Linked DNA regions of Homo sapiens: all the other regions are linked to region 1. Evidence: promoter capture Hi-C in 16 types of primary human blood cells and fetal thymus (Javierre and others, 2016). All regions are on one chromosome and are shown on one strand. Each heading gives the region's core, a stretch centred on a gene start or on the middle of the fragment in contact. The rest is flanking DNA. Distances are from core to core; before and after follow the strand shown.

Region 1 (2,695 bases), core at 79-2,578:
TATCGCTACATGTAATGCAGATTAGGACTAGAATATTAAAGCAGTGTTGCCACTTAACATTAATCCATGAACATATTCTACGCGTGACTACTGGAAAGCACTAATAACCACCCCAATCTAGTCTCTAGGAATTGGCATTTAAAAGCCCAAAGATGGAAAAAGGTCACCTAACCCGGCAACACATCCTGAGGGAAAGGAGGGACACAGGACTCCGTGCGCGATATCAACATTCTCTTCCTTTCTACTCTCCGCACCGCCCCCGCCCCCCGTGTCAGGTGATCAGTTATTTAGCACCATTAACACGTACGTATCGACAAGTGGTTCATTAAATTACATGTATTATCGGAAGGCAAGAGTCTAGGCTTCTCATTTCAAACTAAGCAAAAGGAGTCCACAGTTTGAGTCCCGGGCACAAAAGCGCGCGGTAACTGGAGGATAAATGGAAGAGCAACTCTCATCTCCAAAAAGCAGCAGCAGGGAGCAGCCTAGCAGCCAGGGCCAGTCCCAGTTTCCCGAAACCAAGGCCCAAAGCTCCATGCTGGGGCTCCCTGAGAAGGAAGAGGCCCCAACGGCCGGATCCGGGGGCCTGCGAGACGGGCCTTCCAGGCAGCGCCCGCCGTGCCTCGGGCCTGCGCGCCCGCGCCTCAGCGGCGGCGGGGCGCCCTCGCAGCAGACGGCTGGGTACCAGTGGTCGGGAGAGAGGCCGTGGTCCCGACCCTCCGCCTGGCGACCGCGTCGCTGCGACTCCCTCCCCAGCCCGCGGTCCAAATGGTCCACAGGCGCCAGCGGCGCGGCCCAGGTAGGCCGAGGACGTTGCGCAAGAGGCCCGAGAGGCGATCTCTCGGCTGCGCGGGAGAAAAGCGCGGAGAGTCCGCCGCGGGAGGGGCGGAGAGGCCCGCGGAGGCGCTGTGCGTGTGGAAGGGGATGGGGGAGGGGAGGATTGCCCGTCTCCCTGGCCGCGGCCACAGCCGCAACTCACCCAGCTCCGCCAGACGAGCGCTACCACTGGCAGCAAGAGGAAGATGGTGGACGCTGCCGCCGCCGAAGAGGAGGAGGAGGGGGCCCGGTGGGTGCCGCGGAGAGGGGGTACGCGCAGGACGTCGGCGTCGCTGCCACAGCCTCTTTTCCTCCTGGGACCAAATGGCTGCTGCTGACGACACTATTCTTGGCTTCCGCGCCGCCCTCCTAATCCTCGTTGCAGCCGCCGCCGCCCTGAGCCCGAAGGTCGCTTGCCGCGTGGGGACGGTGCGACGGCGCGAGACCCCGCAGCCATCGGCGTGCGGCGGCGGCGCGGGAGCTGGAGAGGGGCCGTGTCACGTGACCCCACTGTTTACCGTTCCGGGGGCCGCGGCCTGCGTCGCTGCCGCGCCTGCGCGCTTTAGGGCCTCGAGCGCCGCGCCTCCGTGGGGCCCCGGGCTGCAGCGCTTCCCGGCGTTGCCGCGCCCCTCCCTGTCTTCGGAGGACGCGGCACCGCCTGCGGGCTTCTAGCTCACACCTCCGCGCCGCCGGGAGGGGCGAATCAGAGGAGCGCTTTTTCTCGACCGTAGTAAGCACTAAGGCTTCACAGTTAATATAATATTGATGCGCAGCTCCCCAACCCCAGGTACTTTTTATTAATTGACTGTGAGTTCAAGAATGGTAGAATAGGATGGAGTAGATGAGCCCTCTGCCCAAATATCTGTGCTGGCTCGGCACAGCAGCCTTACCATTAACTACCTCCGTTACCCTCACCCTACATGGCTGATCTACCTCAGGACTCAAATTGCTACCTCCAAGAAACATTCTTGGTATCCAGTAAGCAGTCTTCAGAATGTGGTCCCAGGTTTCCCTGAGGGGTCGCCAAGACCTTTCAGTAGAGCCTCCATTCCTTTGCCAGGAGCATGTGTCTAAGGCCAAATTTTCTTCCCACCCTTCAACCAAAACAGCATATAGCAGCTGATTCAATGCAGAAACAGATAAGAGAATCCAGCCATCTTCTATTAAGCCAGACATTGAGGAAATCTGCAGAAATTTTAGATATCACCCTTTTATTAATTTGGAAAATATGCTTTTCATAAATACATTATTTGTGGTAACAAATATTGTGTAGAGGTCCAGAGACAAAAAAAGTTTGAGACCCACTGGTCTGCTTCCACAGACACTTGAGCTAACCCCTATCTCAGCCCTTAATAAGCGCTGTGAAGTAATTGTTGCTTGTCAGTCACTCCAACCAAAAGGAGCTACTTAGGGACAGGGTTTGTGGCTTTTATCTACAGGGACTATTACAGTATTCAGCCAGTACCTGCTGAGCACCTTACTGTGTGGTCTGCACTGTTCTAAAACCTTTACAGTACTTGTTGATTTAAGCTTTAGACCAACCGCAGCCCACATTGTAAGATTAGTGCAGGGTGGAAGAATAAGTCACAGGCATGTGGTGAAGATCTGTTCTTTCCTCTCTCTAGTCTTCTGATATTTTAAGCACTCTTAATAGCAAATGCTCTTCTACAAAGGAAGTTTGGGTTGTCCTGATTCCACTGGATTCTTAAGAGTTTCACCCCCTGTCTTGACTAATCAATCCCTCAAGACTTTGTTTTACAATCTTTTTGTAATGTGTTTTTGAGAAAGGAAAATAGAAATGAGTAATTTTTTTTTTTAATTCTCACTTGGGATGTCTGGGATGAATTATAAAAACAAGCCTAATGTTATTCTTACTCTT
Region 2 (2,695 bases), core at 91-2,590, 9.0 Mb before region 1:
GGAGTTTCTGTGCAGGGACTTTCAGGGTGAAAGATCTAGAGACTTAAAATGACTCGTGTGCCCGCTTTAAACGTCAAAATCTTGGCCTTTCTGCAAGCAGTAAAATGAAAACCACTTCCTCTTAACTTAGCTGTTTTCCTTGTTGCAGACTGCTACTTTCGCTGGGTAGGTAAAGTCACTTCCATCTCTCTGGCGCGGCTGGGCCCCGCGTGCAGGCAAGAAGTCTCAGGAAGGCAGGACACAGGGACACGTTTCCCTGGAAGACAGCCAGCTGTTTAATTTCTAAGTGATGCTTTTCTGGGGATGCAGCATTAGTTCTAGTGAAACTGTATTATTGATTAAGCAAATGCCATTTAAGCTTAATTAAAAAATAAAAAAGACCCGGTTACTGGTAGCCGTTTTGAGCTGCTGAGAAGGACCTTTCACTTATGTCTTCTAGAGTAACCGCCATTTGGATACACAGCCCAGAAAAAGAGGGCCTGCTCAAGTTTTCGCGGGTAGTGTGAGAGTTACTAGGAATCCAACAACCTGGCTTCCTAGTTCACTGTTCCTTCCACCAATCAATCTGCATCTCCAGCAGAGAATGGATAAAATAGCAAACAGTTCTGGGGTTTTGTATCAATCTCTGACTGCAACCATTGGGAAAGACTGGCTTAGCTGAAGTTCTAACCTTCCTACCTTTCAATGCCCAGAAAGAAAAAGCCAAGTGAGTCTGTGCCAACCTCTCCTACAAGAGCCTCTGTTTGCACCTTGCTTTATTTGCTACCTGCTAACTTCCCTCAAAAGACGGGAATTAACTTTGGAGAAAATAAGGTGTTTGCGATTAAGCTTTGTTGTTGTTCCTTTGAATACAGACGTTGCTAGGAAACTGCCTTTTATTAGTTCGTTTTGCTGAAATATTAAAATTCAAATTTAGAAAAGAGGATAGGCATACTGAGCAGTGAGTAAAACAGTGTATATTCTATGCATTATAATTACATTAGAGCATTATGAAGAGGTAAAGGCAAATGTTAACTGCTAGTGTAAAGTATGTGAGTTGATTGGCCCTCCCCATCTTTTGAGATGTGTTTGCTTTTACTCATTCATTCTCTTAAGATGCTTGCCTGAAATTTATGACCTTGGAAACATTTTCTGAAGTCTACATGGATATGGTTTCAACTGAACATAGTTTCTAGAGATATTTTATTTTAGTGTGTTTCTTTTTCTTTTTTGGAGATGGGGTCTTGCTGTTTTGCCCAGGCTGGTCTCCAACTCCTGAACTCAAGCAATTCTTCCACCTCAGCCTCTCAAAGTGCTGGGATTACAGGCGTGAGCCACTGCTCCTGGCCTCAGTGTGTTTTCTATCCCATTGTATTATTCTTCTGAAAGGTACTCTGAAATAATAATATTTGAAATTCTATACATGAGCTAGAGATGCACAAAAAAAAGACTTTCAATGCTCATAAGAGGGGCAGAATAACTGGATCTGGACGAGTTTCACAAAGCATCAATGACTCACTCTCCCACTTTCCTTCTTCTTCATGCCTACCCATTTTCTCATTTGCGCCTATCTCCTACTACAAGATACGCTCTTTAGTAGCCACTCTTTAGTGATATGGGTGCATATTGATCCATTGTGAAATTCCTGGGCTAATCAGACAGGGAATGATAAATAGAATTCTTAAACCCTATAATAAAAAGGAAATGCATGTGACATGAGTCTGCTTGGGAAAATAATGAAGGGGCAAATATAAAACTTAAAAAGTAGAAAATAATCAACAAAAAGAAAATGCACTAATGGAGAAATGGAAATTCATGATTGGCTGCTGTTTAATGATGTGCACAGGGCTCAGCAATTTGCCTTGTAAGCTTAGGGGTAGAACTGAAGTCTCCAGACTCCTGAATAGGAGTCCCTTTAAGCTACCACCCTTCTCCTTAGCTTTTATTTCCTTCCAATCAGGCCATAACCAAACCAATAAGCATAACAGCTATATTGCATTTCATAGATATCATAACCATTGGTTCAGTAAACATATTTATCTCCTGCTATTATTTTAAATGTATCAGCATAATATACCATTTGTTTTGATCAGTCATCAACAATTCTTATCTCTAAGAGTTATGATACAAACTTCTCACGCTCTTTCTTCAACAAGCAGAAATTAATCAGAGAACCCAGGACAACGTCAGAGATCATATGAGCCTCACCAGACTGCATGAGAGTCATAACACAGTAGGAGTCCCAGGCCTACCTCACATGGCAAATGGGACAGTGTTCTTCAGAACAACCTCTGCCCCAGGGATGCAGAAAGGAGGTGGGTGTGAATGAGTGTGGCTGTAAGGAGAGGCTGGTAGAGAAATAGTGCGGAAAGGGCTCAACAAGTTCTCACCATTTTTATTCCAGCAGCTAACAAAATTACTGTTTCTAGGAATTACTGAAATATTGTGCTGATCACAATTGTTGAAGCAAAATAATAGCAAATACTTATCATGTGTTTTGTATGTGTTAGGCACTGTGGTTTACAGTAATTATTTCAGGCCGGATGTGGTAGCTCATGCCTGTAATCCCAGCACTTTGGGAGGCCAAAGTGGGTGGATCACTTGAGATCAGGAGTTCAAGACCATCCTGGCCAACACAGTGAAACCCCGTCTCTACTAAAAAATAGAAAAATTAGCTGGGCATGGTGGCAGGTGCCTGTAATCCCAGCTACTCAGG
Region 3 (2,695 bases), core at 76-2,575, 7.0 Mb before region 1:
TACATAATCTACAGTAACTGTTAACATCAGCGAAAGAAGTAAACAACATATTTGCATGTTTTTTGTTTTTGTTTTTGAGACAGGGTCTTACTCTGTTGCCCAGGTTGGAGTGCAGTGGCACAATCACGGCTCACTGCAGCCTTGACCTCCTCAGGAGATCCTCCTACCCTAGCCTCCCAAATAGCTGGCACCACAGGCACGTGCCACCACACCCAGCTATTTTTTTTTAATTTTATTTTCACTTTTTGTAGAGACAGAGTTTCGTCATTTTGCCAAGGCTGGCCTTGAACTTCTGGGCTCAAGTGAGTCACCTGCGTTGGCCTCCCAAAGTGCTGGGATTAGAGGTGTGAGCCACCATTCCTAGCCTATGCATTGTATTTTTTTTTTTTAAATAAACTCCCTCATCCCGATCCTTAGCAACCACTGACCTGTTTTCTGTCCCTATAAGTTTTATCCTTTTATTTAATAGAAATCCGTGTAATTATGGCCAGGCGCAGTGGCTCACAACCGTAATCCCAGCACTGTGGGAGGCTAAGGCGGGCAGATCACCTGAGTCAGGAGTTCGAGACCAGCCTGGCCAACATGGCAAAACCCCGCCTCTGCTAAAAATACAAAAATTAGCTGGGTGTGGTGGCACGTGCCTGTAATCCCAGCTACTTGAGAGGCTGAGGTAGGAAAATCACTTGAACCCGGGAGGCAGAGGCTGCAGTGAGCCGAGATCATACCACTGCACTCCAGCCTGGGAGACACAGTGAGACTCCAACTCAAAAAAAAAAAAAAAAAAAAAAAACAGGAAATCCATGTAATTGTAATGTATACTCTGTTGTCTTTTGTGTATGGATTCTTTTGTAAATATAATGTTTTTATGACTCATCCACTAGTTCATTGCTTTGTACTGTAAAACATTATTCCACTGTACGGACGCACTATTTTCTTTATCCATTCGTCAACTGATAAAACATTTGAATTGTTTCCAGTGTTTGGCTATTATGAATAATGCTGCTATGAACATTCAAGTGCTTGTTTTACTTTGTCTTATTATTAAGTTGCATTATTTCTTTAGATATTCTGAATAAAGGTCCTTACCAGATAAAATATTTTTCCCAGCCATCTATGATTTTTAAGTGTCTCTTGAAAAGCAAAAGTTTTTAATTTTAATGAAGTTCATTTTCTCAATTTTAACTTTATGGAATATAATTTTGTGTCCTATCCAAGAATCCTCTGCTTAATTCAAGGTCCCAGAGATTTTCCCCCATGTTTTCTTCTAGCAGTTTTATAGTTTTAGCTCTTAAATTTAGTTTTATGATCCATCTCAAATTAGTTTTTGTGAATGGTCTGAGGTAAGGTTCAAGGTATTATACATTCTGTTGTTGTTGTTGTTGTTGTTGTTGTTGTTGTTGAAAAGACTATCCTTTCTCTCCATTGAGTTACCTTGGCACTTCTGTTAAAAACTGACCATAATATGTGAGTCTATTTCTGGACTACGTATTATGTTCCACAGATAACTATAGCTTTTTAATAACTGTTAAAGGCAGGTTGTGTAAGACCTCAAACATTCTTTTTGTTTTTCAATGTTTTGATTTTGGAAGGTCCCTTGCATTTCATTAAAAATTTTAGAATCAGCTTGTCAGTTGCAACAAAAAAAGCCTTCTGGGATTCTGACTGGAATAATGTTGAATTTAGAGACTAATTTGGAGAGAACTGACATCTTAAAAATATTGAGTCTTCTAATCCATGAGCATGATATCTCTGATACCTCTCTCCACTTCTTTAGGTACAGTATTCATTAATTTCTCTCAGCTATCTTCTGTAGTTTTTGGTATACAGGTCTTGCACGTATTTTGTTAAATTTATCCCACAGTTTTCATATTGTTATGCTATTATAAATCATAATTTTTATTTCAACTTCCAATTATTTGTTGCTAGTATATAGAGTTACTTTTTCTATAGTCACTTTATTTCTGTAAACTTAATAAACTCAATTATTCATTCTAATAGCTTTTCTATAAATTTCTTGGGATTTCCTACATAAATGATCCCATTGCAAAGAGATTGTTAAATGACTCTTGCATGCATGTATTTTTAAATAGGTCCTGTGAGAAAGGCTAATTTAAGTAGTACTTCATCATCCCATACCATCTTAAATACACCCAACTCTGTACCACTTATAAAAATCTAGATTCTGGCCAGGCGCGGTGGCTCAAGCCTGTAATCCCAGCACTTTGGGAGGCCAAGGCAGGCGAATCACTCGAGGTCAGGGGTTTGAGACCAGCCTGGCCAACATAGCAAAACTCCGTCTCTACCAAAAATACAAAAATTAGGCGGGTGTGGTGGCACACACCTGTAAGCTACTCCAGAGGCTGAGACAGGAGAATCGCTTGAACCGGGGAGGCAGAGGATGCAGTGAGCCGAGATCATGCCAATGCACTCCAGCTTGGGCGACAGAGTAAGACTCCATCTCAAAAAAACAAAAAAAAAAAAACAAAAAATCTAGATTCCATATATAATTTTTATCACAAATCCACTTTGTTAGGCAGAATAATGGCCCCCAAAGAAGTCCTGTTCTATCCTTGGAATCTCTGTGAATAACTTAAGGACACTGAGATGGCAGTATTGTCCTGTATTACCCAGATAAAGCCAAAAGGTCATAAACATGCCAGAGAAGATGTAATGATGGAAGTGGAGGGCAAGGAGG
Region 4 (2,695 bases), core at 54-2,553, 7.0 Mb before region 1:
TTGACTACCACCCATAAGTCTTCCAATGCATTCCTCTTTTGCTTGTTAAATTTTAAAAGTCATAGAACAGATTTATGTAGAGCACCAACATTATTGATAGTGAGCCATGCACCATTTGATGAAAGTAGAGGGGAATGTGCTATGGTCTGAATGTTTGTGTCCCCCTAGATTTTCATGTTGGAACATAACCCCCAATCTGATAGATGTGGAGCCTTTGAAGGTGATTAAGTCATCTGGACAGAGTCCTAATTAATGGTATTAGTGCCCTTCTAAAAGAGGCCCAAGGCCGGGCTCAGTGACTCACTCCTATAATCCCAGCACTTTGGGAGGCTCAGGTGGGTGGATCACCTGAGGTCAGGAGTTCGAGACCAGCCTGGCCAAAATGGTGAAACCCTGTCTCTACTAAAAATACGAAAATTAGCTGGGCATGGTGGTGAGCGCCTGTAATCCCAGCTACTTGGGAGGCTGAGGCAGGAGAATCGCTTGAACCCAGGAAGTGGAGGTTGCAGTGAGCTGAGATCACACCATTGCACTCCAGCTTAGGCAACAAGAGTGAGATTCTGTCTCAAAAAAATAATAAAAAATATAAAAATAAAAGAGGCCCAAGGGAGCTTGTTGAGCCCTTCCACCAACTGAGCAAGCAATAAGAAGGCCTCATCTATGAACCAGGGAATAGCTCCTCACTAGATACCAAATCTGCAGGTGCTTTGGTCTTGGTCTTCCCAGCCTCTAGAACTGTGAGCAATAAATTTTTGCTCTTTGTATGCCACCAAGTCTAAGATAGTTTGTTATAGATGCTCAAATGGACTAAGACAGCATGCTCTTTAAAAAGTTAGCTTCTTTTTCTGGTCTTTAAAGGAACTCATTTCTAGGCCTTTCTTCTAGGCCTTTGCAATTTGGTAACTTTGCTGGAATGAAACATTTTACACATGAAATTTTCCACCATTTTTCATTCTTGACCTTCTTACCAAAATAGTGTATATCATCTCAGTGATTCCAAACTAAAAGTAGCATAATTTTAGGAGCAAGACGGAAAGGAAATAGGCATAGGTTTATTTTAAATTGTTTAAAAATGTTATTTATTCATTTCCACCTTAGAATAGGCAGAGATTTTTTTAGGACACAAGATGCACTGACCATAAAAGAAAAAAAATTGAAATCAGACTTTATTAAAATTTAAAATTTCTGCTCTTCAAAAGACACCATTGAGAAAAAGGCAAAAGTCAGGCTATAGATTTGGAGAAAATATTTGTAATATGTGATAAATACAAAGGACTTATTTAGAGAATATATAAGGAGCACCTGCAAGTCAATAATAAAAAGGCAACCCATTAAAATGGCAAAAGACTTAAAGAGATATCTCAAAAAGATACATGAAGAACCAGTAAGCTCCTGAGACATCATTAGTAATTAGGGAATTGTACAATAAAAACTAATGAAATGCCACTTTATACCTACTAGAATGACTAAAATAAAATGAATGATAATATCAAATGGTAAGTAGGTAGTGAGGCAACTAGTATTCTCATTGCTGTTGGGAGCATAAAATTTTATAACCAGTTTGTCAGTTAAAGTTAAACATATACTTCTCCTGTGACCCAGAAATTCCACTCTGAGAAATGAAAAAAATATATTCATAAAAAGACTTATATAAGAATGTTGATAATAGCTTTAGTCACAGTAGTCAAAACCTGTAAACAACTTAAATGTTCATAAACAAGAGAATGGATAAACAAATAATGATATATTTATGCAATAAAATATTACTTATCAATTAAAAAGACAAACTAGGCCAGGCGCAGTGGCTCACGCCTGTAATCCCAACACTTTGGGAGGCCGAGGCAGGCAGATCACCTGAGGTCGGGAGTTCGAGACCAGCCTGACCAACGTGGAGAAACCCTTTCTCTATTAAAATTACAAAATTAGTTTCTGTATTGGGGAGAGGGGTTGGAAACACATAATATTTATGTTCAAGGAAGTAACAAAAGACTTGTATTGATACTGAGACCACAAAGGGCTGCATGGTACAAGGCCAGGCTGGGGAGGTAAGCAGAGATCAAACCATACAGGGCTTTTCAGTGGTCATAAAAGCCCACCACTCAGCTCTTCTGCCACAGGGGAGCACAGGCAACTGACAGTCTGAGCCACTGCTCTCCTGAATCCGCCACTGTGTTCGCACCAAGGCCATGCTTCCCCTGGGCTGCTCCCAGCCAATAACGAGCATGCACTGGTAGGGAGGGTGAGGGAAGGCAACTGATATAAGACAAGAGACTCCTTTAACAGGCAATGTTGCCTCAAAGACCCCTGCTGACCTGGCCAAAACTTTCTCAGAACTTTGCTGCCTCTTCCTACCCAATCTGAGCCTCTTCCTACCCAAATCCTCCTTCCTGCCCCGTCTCTTCCACAGGTGTTAGACCTGCCTCACAGTCTGAAAGTTCTTCTGCATTCTCTTTCTCCTGTTTATTTTTATAGACATCCCCCCTAATAAACATCTTTCAGGTCTAATCCCATCTTAGCATCTGCTTCTTGGAGAACTTGAATTAACACAGCTTTGTTAAATAAGATAAATTGCAATTAGGGAATTACCTTTATACCAAGAGTAATAGGAAGTTATTGGAGTATTATGAACTCTGACTGACATGATCAGATTTATGTTTTGAGGGAAAAAAAAAAACCTTCTTGGCAGCAGTGTAGG
Region 5 (2,695 bases), core at 139-2,638, 6.8 Mb before region 1:
TGTCAAAAAAAAAAAAAAAGTCCCAGTCTATTATCAATATATTTATAACATAATTTAGAAATATGTTCTATATTCTGTATGATCTCATAGAGACCTAATGCCATAAAAGGAAATATGCTATAATTTTCTCAGAATGGTTTCTCGGTTGAGAGATAGTTTATCAAATTTTTTTCATCAAAATAAGAACTACCTGAAGGGTTAGTTACTCAAGTAGGAGATGTCTCTTAATGGTATAATATGCCTGATACTTTTACATTTCTATTAGGAAAAAAGAAGCTAATATTTCTTCTAAATTTAGCACATTATCAATAACCAAGTATGTACCTGTTAACAACTGCCAATCTTTAAAAATAAAATGTGAACCTACTGTGGAGTTGTTTCACCTTATTCCTTCTGAAAAACCTAGACCTGCCTAATCACTTATGCTTTGTAACTTTTCTGAAAAACCACTGAGTCCATTAAGAATGATTTCTTCTATATTACCATTCTGCTTCTTATTCCTCTTTCTTTCTTTTAATTAGGAGAGGGTTTCGCTCTGTTGCCCAGGCTGGTCTTGAACTCCTGGCCTCAAGAGATCCTCCTGCCTCAGCCTCCCCAAGTGCTAGAATTACAGGCATGAGCCACCACACCCCACCTTATTCCTAGTCATCTCTAAACCTTCTTCCTGACAAACAACTCATGAAAAAACACTTCAAATCTATATGCCCTCAGCTCCATCCATTTATTTAAATGCACACATGTACATATAAAAAACTCAATGTTAAAGCACTTTTTCCTCAATACCTAGAATCAAAGCAAAGGAAATCCTTGGCTTTTCTACCCCCTAAACAGCCCTCACAACAAGGATTTAATGTAAACAAAATAAAGATTTTATTTAATGTAAACAAAATAAAAATATAAAACAGAAAATTAAGGATTAACTAAAGATATAGGTGTAACTCTTACATTTCCTTTCAGTGTCAACTCGTGGCAAACAAAAGGAATATCTGTTTTACAAACTGAATGCTGCAGTGTCTGTTTCACTGTGTATGAACATTAACTAATGTGTGAACATTAGTTAATGTACTAATTAGAAAACTCTAGTACATTAGAACTGCTGCTTCTCAAGGAAGCTTGCACTTCTTTCAAAGCCAGGTCATTTTATTTGGTACATCTATCTAGTACATTAGAAAAGTCTAATAGAGTGCTAGTCCACAGTTCACCAGCATTCTACTAGACTTTTCACAGAAGTCTGAAATTTAAAAAAGAAATGTTTGATTTGGGATTTAAGCAGTCAATTATACTCTTACTACACAGTCTAAAATTAAAGAGATAAAAACTAAGTATTTATATAGCAATTTTTGTCTGCGGTGGCCCTAAGCATGTTTAAATGATTAGGGCTTGCTTTGCTATTAATTACTTTACAGCTGGAGATACTGAGATACACAGGTTAAGTGGGTTCTACAAACTAATGTCATGAGTCATCATAAGAGTTCATATATTCTGACTAGAAATTCTAGTCTTCTGCCTGCTGTCCACCACAAATCCCTATTTAATTTATAAGAGCACAGGAACCAACTCACTAAAAATACCAGCAAGAATTTGTAGGCATTTACTTTTTTAAAATGAATGTTTACCTAAAAATAAAAAGACCTGGCTTTTTATTTGAAGGAAGTGCAAGCTTCCTTGAGAAGCAGCAGTTTCTTTATTTGCATTTGAAAAATCATTTTTAAAAAATCTTAAAAGCTGATGAGTGCATCACCTCTTACCATACACAATTGCTAGTTCTTCTCAAAGAAGTGTGGTTTGATGACACCAGAGCCTCCTAGTTTTACTTTAAATCACTTTGAATAAGGAACTACACTTTTTTTTTTGCCTTGGTATTTCCCTTCTTAAAACAGAAACAGAAAACTTAATTCCTACCTGACACAGACAACATAAGGAAGAATTTGTTTGTGGACTGCTTTGAGATTCCAGAACCAAATACATAATCCAGTTGATCTTCAACCCTACAATAAAGACAAACTTCACTAAACATAATTGCTTCAGCAGATGCCTTCAAAATAAGATACTATACCATTATTTATGGAAAGAGAAGTTTTATTTAAGCCAAATCTTGATCACAATGCAATGGAGGAAAAAAATTACAAAACCGTTTAGAAAGTTCTTCTGCTCAATTAAAAAATTTAATACTTCTCACGTATGTCTCCTATAAGCACACTAATTCTAAAGGTAGCAGAAATTGTATGCATTTATTAGAGAACAGAGACTCTCAGGAAAATTATGCAATCAATTGCAATAGCAAATGTATAAAACAAATTAATAATACATTTTAAAAAAGAAATTCTGTTAAATTTCATTTAAGATTAGTTCTTGGACAGCTACACCTAATGGAGGACAAGAAAATTTCCAAATTTTAAGTGTATGTTTGTAGGTCAACCTTTAACAAGTCTTAACCCATTATAGTTTCATTTAGTCTGTACTCAAGTTGCTTTCCCAGGCATGCCAGGTAAACATAATTCTTAAAAATTAAAGCTTTAATCAGTAAGTGTAACCGATTTGTTGCTACTGTCACTCTTTTGATGATACTTCCACCAACCGGTAAAGAAAGAAGAAATGTTATTAAACTGGAAGATGAACTAGAAACATTGAGTGGATACCTAGCTTAGGCAGAAAGCAGCAAGGACTAGAAGGGTATGTCACAAAGAAGTCTTCA
Region 6 (2,695 bases), core at 127-2,626, 6.8 Mb before region 1:
GCGAAAACAATTTTTTGACTTGAGTTCATATTTTTCATTCAATGTCTGCGGGGCCCTCAATGTAACTTTTTTTTTTTTTTGAGAGGGGTCATCCTCCAATCATTAACTACTTCTAATCTTCACTGCTACACAGAGTTTCCAATATTTAGCAACAGATGGCTTTGCTTTTACCTTATAGATGAGGCCAAAGCACCAGGTAGGTGGAAGGTTCTTGTATCGGTTCGAACCCCGACAGCGCGCCAACAGACAACACGAGGCAGTGGGGAGCAACATGCTGTTTTAATGAGCGCCTGGGTGCAGGCGTGCTGAGGCTGAAAATGGCATCAGCACCAAATGAGGATGGGGCAGGGGTTTTATAGTCTCCTGTAAACAGGAAGTGTCTCAGTCTGATGTAACTGCTACGTGGTACCTGGACGGCCTCTCTCTCGGTCTTCACAGGGTACATATCTTCCGGCCAGCTCTCTTCCTGCTTCTGCTATCTTGCTGACGCATGCTGCTAGCACAAGTGGCCTTGCACCTTGGGACTGGGCCTGAGGAGGGCGGAGTTATTCATTCCCTTAAACTTTCAGGCCCCGGGGAGAATCTTTCAGTAAGAGCTCTTTCAGCTTTACCAACTACAGTCTACACACTTAACCTGCTTCCACGCACACCCTCATCGTTCTCTTTCTCGGTGGAAAATATGTGCTTCCCTTGGCAAAGGCCAACCTGTTCATCTGTGCTCCTGAACACAGCCTCTCCAATGTACTTGTTATATATATATGTGTGTGTGTGTATATATACACAACTATATATATATATACGTATATACAACTGTATATGTGTGTGTATATATACACACAACTATTTATGTATATACATATATGTATATATCCCTCCCACCATGGGGTCTTCCCATTTTGCCCAAGCTGGTCTTGAACTCCTGAGCTCAAGTGATCCACTCACCTTGGGCTCCCAAAGTGCTGAGATTACAGGCATGAGCCACTGTGCCCAGCCTGTCCTTGTGCCTTTGATTCATCATTTATCCTCTCCTTCTTCTTTATTTTTCCACTGATCCTTTGTCACAGGCCTTAGTCTTCTGCCAGCTGATAAATGGGAATATTCCACAGGTTCAGTTCTCGCCCTTTTTCTTCTTTCATTATGTACATCACAAAGGAGATCTTATCCACATTCATGGCTTCTGCACACACATTAAAGCCATGTACACCTGCCTTCAGCCCTAGGTGAGTTCTAGGTGCCCACAGGACCTCTCTACCTATCTTCTCAAAGATAAGTCAATCTTAACATGTTCAAAATGAATCCATTATAATTGATGTATTAGTCTGTTCTCACACCGCTAATAAAGACATACCCAAGACTGGATAATTTATAATGGAAAGAGGTTTAATTGACTCACAGTTCAGCATAGCTGGGAGGCCTCAGGAAACTTACGATCATGGCAGAAGGGGAAGCAAACATGTCCTTCTTCACATGGTGGCAGCAAGGAGAAGTGCAGAGCGTTGGTGGAGAGCCCCTTATGAAACCACTAGATCTCGTGAGAACTAATTCACTATCACGAGAGTAGGATAGGGGAAATCATCCTCATGATTCAATTATCTCCACCTGGTCCTTCCCACGACACATAGGAATTACAGGAACTACAGTTCAAGATGAGGTTTGGGTGGGGACTATATCAATTGAGAATTAAAAAAAATCATTTCTTCTGTATTACCCTTGTTCTGTATTCTCTCTATAGTGAATGGCATTATGATTGTCACATCCTGAAACCTAGGAATCAACTCGTGTCTTCCCTGTCTCTTACTCTCTCACCTTCAGAGAATCACCAAGCTCTGTTGAACTTAATAATAATTGACAATGCTGAATATGAAAGGCATTTTTTAAAGAAGACTAAATGTATTTTCTCAATTTTCACAGTCACTGTGTTATGTGGGTGGCTAATATCACCTCCATTTTAAAATTAAGAAAATTGAGGCACCAAGAGGCAAAATAACTTGCTTTGGTCACACAGGTAATAAACGGCAGGGATGGGATCCAAATCTAGGCAGTTTACAGCGCTGGCCTCTTAACAACCATACCATGGTCGGCTTACTAAATGCCAGGATCTTAAATACCTCTTCAGTTCATTTCCTCCTATTCTTTCTCATTTTGGTAGAGTTGGTTCATGTGCTTCTTTTCTGCTGTGTAACTTCTTACAACCTGCTGCTCTAAATCCATTTTTAAGTTATCTTACTAATTAGCCTTCATCAACATTTTCAGGAATTTGGCTAAGCTATGTCTTTGTAATCTATAGATTTGAGATTTTGTTTCAAGAAAATTATATTCAATTATATATTTGAATTTTTCCCATTCCATATATTATTTTCTTCCATGAAAGTGATTATTTGTTTAATGTCCATACCACCTCCTTTCTTATTTTATCTCTGTTCTTTTCCAATTCGTTTTATGTTATTTACTCAAGGGCTTTCTTTTTGTCCTAGACTGTATTTTTATCCATATATATGTGTTACCATTTGTTGACTCTAATGAGAATTTCACCTCTGTAATAATTTCATCTTATGCTTCTATTCATCTCTGAGCTCCACACACCCACTGTTTATCTCCTGTTCTTGCTTCATCTCTCTTTTGATCGATCTCTTGTTATTCTTTCAGGATAATTTTTTTTTTTTTAAGGAAAGCCAACTTGCCTTTAGTTTCTTTG
Region 7 (2,695 bases), core at 125-2,624, 6.5 Mb after region 1:
CAAAATTTACACAGTAACTTGAGACAAACGTTCACAGGAAGTAGATAAAACTTTTCAATACACCGTTAAAGTCTTTCCAAAAATCTATTAACATTAAATTGTTTAGAAATTCTATACAAGTCTACTACTGTATTACCAAATAAATTCTTAAGCAAGAAAAGGGGAAAACTATCTTTTCATGCTTTCAGGCCAGTAACTAGCACTTAGTCTTCTATGTAGGGAGGTGCCCAATAAATACCGAGAGACGAACGGAACCGCTGAATCCCGTCCGCGAGGTTAGGGGAGAAACAGAAGCGGCAACGTCTCTGCTGCACGAAGCACCCGGTAACTTACTGCCTACCCCTCACTCCTGTCTAATCTTTGCTCTCAATGGATTGCTGGGTTGGTTTTGTTTTATTCATTTTTGTTCTGAAGCAAGGAAACTTAACTTCACGTGGAGGGCCACTGTAAACTGCTGCCTCCCTTAAAAAATGCATAACGAGAAGAGTAAGTTAAAACGTTTGGGGCCACACAGAAGGTTCTAGAAGTTCTGCAGACCCAAGCTGCCACAGTCCTTAATCGCATGGAATCTCACTGTAACTTTTATCTCCTCTGATTTTTTTCCGCTCCCTAACACCTAGGTAAATTAATCAAAGTGTGGCCACCGATAACGCCCTCACAGGTTTAGCTTAAATCGAATGCGTTTTCTCTCGGACTAGGGGAGATAATCCAAGAAACAAACAAAACTACACCACGTCCATCCACAACAAATCTCAACAAGCAACTTCGGTTGCCGCAGCCTCACTGTGCCCCAGGCCCCGGCCCGCCACACGCGGCCTCCGTCCGCTAACCGCCCGCGAACCGCCCGCGCGGCGAGCAGAACGCCCGAGACCGCCCGCCCGGAGCTCACCTGAGCTCCAGCTGGTCCAGGCTCTCCAGCAGGCGGCTGGAGCGGTCAGCCATGGAGGAGGAGCGGCAGAAGCGCCCCTCGTTGGCTTTAGCGTTGATCTTCGCCTGAGCCATCTAAGCCTCCGACGCGGGGTAGCCAAGAGGTCACCGGCCCCTCCGGCGGCAGCGAGTGGAGCGCTCCTTGGGCTGCAGGCGTCGCCGTCACCACGCGGGCGCCCGCCCTCCCTCTGACGCCCGCGGGGGCAACCCGGGAGGACTCGCCGACACCGCGGCTGCAGCGTAGCCAAAGAAGGGCAGGCGCGGCGCCCGCGGGGCTCGGGGACGCCGGGCCTGGGAGGGGGCTGCAGCGGCTGGAGTTAGAGGTTCGCGAGCCACACGGGCTCGAGGATGGGCCGACAGGGGCTCGGGCCTGGGGAGCGCAAGTCTCTGAGGCACGGGAGGGGCGGACGCAGAGACCGAGCGCCTAATGTGGCTAGCGGATCGTCTGCTCCCCGGACCCAGGAACTACCCGAAGCCCGCGCGGACCCACAGACCACCCCCAGCTCCGCCCCGCGAGGCCCCGCCTCTTCATGCAACCTAAAAGTAACCAACTCCCCCCACGCGAAGGTTCCTATCGGTCGACGGGCTGTGGGTGTATTGCTCAGTGACGGCTTCGTTTAGTTTCTCCCAGCACCCATAATTCAAAGCAAGAACAACGACATTATGGGGAGAAAACGTCCTTTTGTGAAACAGAAGGCAGTAAGTACAGCTCGTAGGCAGCCCACACTCACCTGACCTTCCTGTTACCACTTTATACTGAGATGAGAGTAATGAAAGCCCGGACAACACTGAAGCTATGAAGTAAAAAAGAAAAAGCTACTCCATCTTTCCCTGTCTAGCTAGATGTGGGAAGCAAAGTGAATTTACTTCATTTTTACCATTCTAATTTTCTTTTGTTTTTGAGATGGGGTCTAACTGTCGCCCACGTTGGAGTGTAGTGGCGCGATCACGACTTACTGCAGCCTCGACCTCCCGGGTTCAAGCGGTCCTCCCACCTCAGCCTCCCAAAGTGCTGGGATTACAGATGTGAACCACCACGCCTGGCTTAATGAAGGGGTTTTAAATTTTTGCTATTAAAATTATTCCTGTTGAGCGAGCCGAGATCTCGCCACTGCACTCCAGCCTGGGCGATAGAGCGAGACCTTGTCTCAAAAAAATAAATAAATAAATAAATATTCTGAGTGAAATAATTGGCATTAAAAAGTCCTCAACTTTTAAAAATCCTGTTAACAAAAAAGATGCAGTAGGCCTCTAGGTCAGGCACCAGCTGTCGGTAAAAGACGGAATAGAGCTGAGGATACAAAGATTAGTCTACTTAAAAAGTTAGGCTTTAGTCCCCTCTCCTGATAGCTCTATGCCTCTCATTGCAAGGATGACAATGTACAGGGCACAGAAAATGATAGATAATAATAGTTTAAAGCTGAGCCACCACCTTTAATCAGAGATCAAAGCCATTTAAATACTTGAACAGAGTTGAAGCCCTTAAGGCTGGATCCCAATTCCCTCTGAACTCATTTTAAATCCTAATTAACTCTTGGGGTAGGGGATTATTTGACCTTATTAAAAATAACTTTATCATGACACAAACGAAAACAAAACACATTTTGTGAGTGGTTTGAAAGTCTATCAAGTGACTTTAGAATCATCCTGAACTCTTTTTCTCTCTTATCCTAGATCCACACCATTAGTAAACCCCATCAATTTTGCCTTCAGAATATATCCAGATTCTTCCCAATTCTACCGCCACCATTCTGGTTCAAGCTACCTG

The links. The method cuts DNA at HindIII sites, captures the fragments that hold promoters and counts their contacts. A CHiCAGO score of 5 or more calls a contact.
Region 2: a fragment that was not itself captured here is called in contact with the fragment with the promoter of PHF3 in region 1 in 1 of 17 cell types (non-activated CD4 T cells); the score reaches 5.7 in non-activated CD4 T cells.
Region 3: a fragment that was not itself captured here is called in contact with the fragment with the promoter of PHF3 in region 1 in 1 of 17 cell types (non-activated CD4 T cells); the score reaches 6.7 in non-activated CD4 T cells.
Region 4: a contact is called between a fragment that was not itself captured here and the fragment with the promoter of PHF3 in region 1, in 2 of 17 cell types (activated CD4 T cells and non-activated CD4 T cells). The highest score is 8.8, in activated CD4 T cells.
Region 5: a fragment that was not itself captured here is called in contact with the fragment with the promoter of PHF3 in region 1 in 4 of 17 cell types (non-activated CD4 T cells, total CD4 T cells, naive CD8 T cells and 1 more); the score reaches 13.9 in non-activated CD4 T cells.
Region 6: a fragment that was not itself captured here is called in contact with the fragment with the promoter of PHF3 in region 1 in 1 of 17 cell types (naive CD8 T cells); the score reaches 6.0 in naive CD8 T cells.
Region 7: a contact is called between the fragment with the promoter of BAG2 here and the fragment with the promoter of PHF3 in region 1, in 4 of 17 cell types (non-activated CD4 T cells, naive CD8 T cells, total B cells and 1 more). The highest score is 27.4, in non-activated CD4 T cells.

What each region holds. Positions count from the first base shown.
Region 1 is chr6:63,634,435-63,637,129 of GRCh38, reverse strand. It overlaps PHF3 (PHD finger protein 3), which reads right to left and starts at 1,328. Exons shown (of 16, transcript NM_001370348.2): 1 at 980-1,328. RefSeq lists silencers at 554-733, 1,174-1,533 and enhancers at 751-1,571, 2,103-2,640. The HindIII fragment of the contact is 3,030 bases long and covers 1-2,348 here.
Region 2 is chr6:72,617,450-72,620,144 of GRCh38, reverse strand. KCNQ5-DT (KCNQ5 divergent transcript) reads left to right here. Exons shown (of 3, transcript NR_186827.1): 2 at 2,139-2,294. Among named protein-coding and RNA genes, the nearest start is that of KCNQ5, 3.3 kb to the left of the region's middle. The HindIII fragment of the contact is 1,020 bases long and covers 831-1,850 here.
Region 3 is chr6:70,678,808-70,681,502 of GRCh38, reverse strand. The region is part of intron 1 of SMAP1 (small ArfGAP 1); the gene reads right to left. Among named protein-coding and RNA genes, the nearest start is that of SMAP1, 12 kb to the right of the region's middle. The HindIII fragment of the contact is 4,869 bases long and covers 1-2,695 here.
Region 4 is chr6:70,654,992-70,657,686 of GRCh38, reverse strand. No RefSeq gene overlaps it. Among named protein-coding and RNA genes, the nearest start is that of SMAP1, 12 kb to the left of the region's middle. The HindIII fragment of the contact is 7,215 bases long and covers 1-2,695 here.
Region 5 is chr6:70,414,584-70,417,278 of GRCh38, reverse strand. It overlaps FAM135A (family with sequence similarity 135 member A), which reads right to left. Exons shown (of 22, transcript NM_001162529.3): 2 at 1,903-1,988. Among named protein-coding and RNA genes, the nearest start is that of FAM135A-AS1, 2.0 kb to the right of the region's middle. The HindIII fragment of the contact is 548 bases long and covers 1,115-1,662 here.
Region 6 is chr6:70,392,520-70,395,214 of GRCh38, reverse strand. It overlaps LINC01610 (long intergenic non-protein coding RNA 1610), which reads right to left and starts at 1,013. Exons shown (of 4, transcript NR_125857.1): 1 at 943-1,013; 2 at 172-530. It overlaps LOC105377847 (a long non-coding RNA gene), which reads left to right. Exons shown (of 5, transcript XR_942668.1): 2 at 1-196. The HindIII fragment of the contact is 3,343 bases long and covers 1-2,695 here.
Region 7 is chr6:57,171,005-57,173,699 of GRCh38, reverse strand. It overlaps BAG2 (BAG cochaperone 2), which reads right to left and starts at 1,374. Exons shown (of 3, transcript NM_004282.4): 1 at 890-1,374. The coding sequence starts at 1,002. ZNF451-AS1 (ZNF451 regulatory antisense RNA 1) reads left to right here and starts at 1,487. Exons shown (of 4, transcript NR_110742.1): 1 at 1,487-1,626; 2 at 2,602-2,695. RefSeq lists an enhancer at 470-1,227 and silencers at 962-1,231, 1,282-1,361. The HindIII fragment of the contact is 6,211 bases long and covers 1-2,695 here.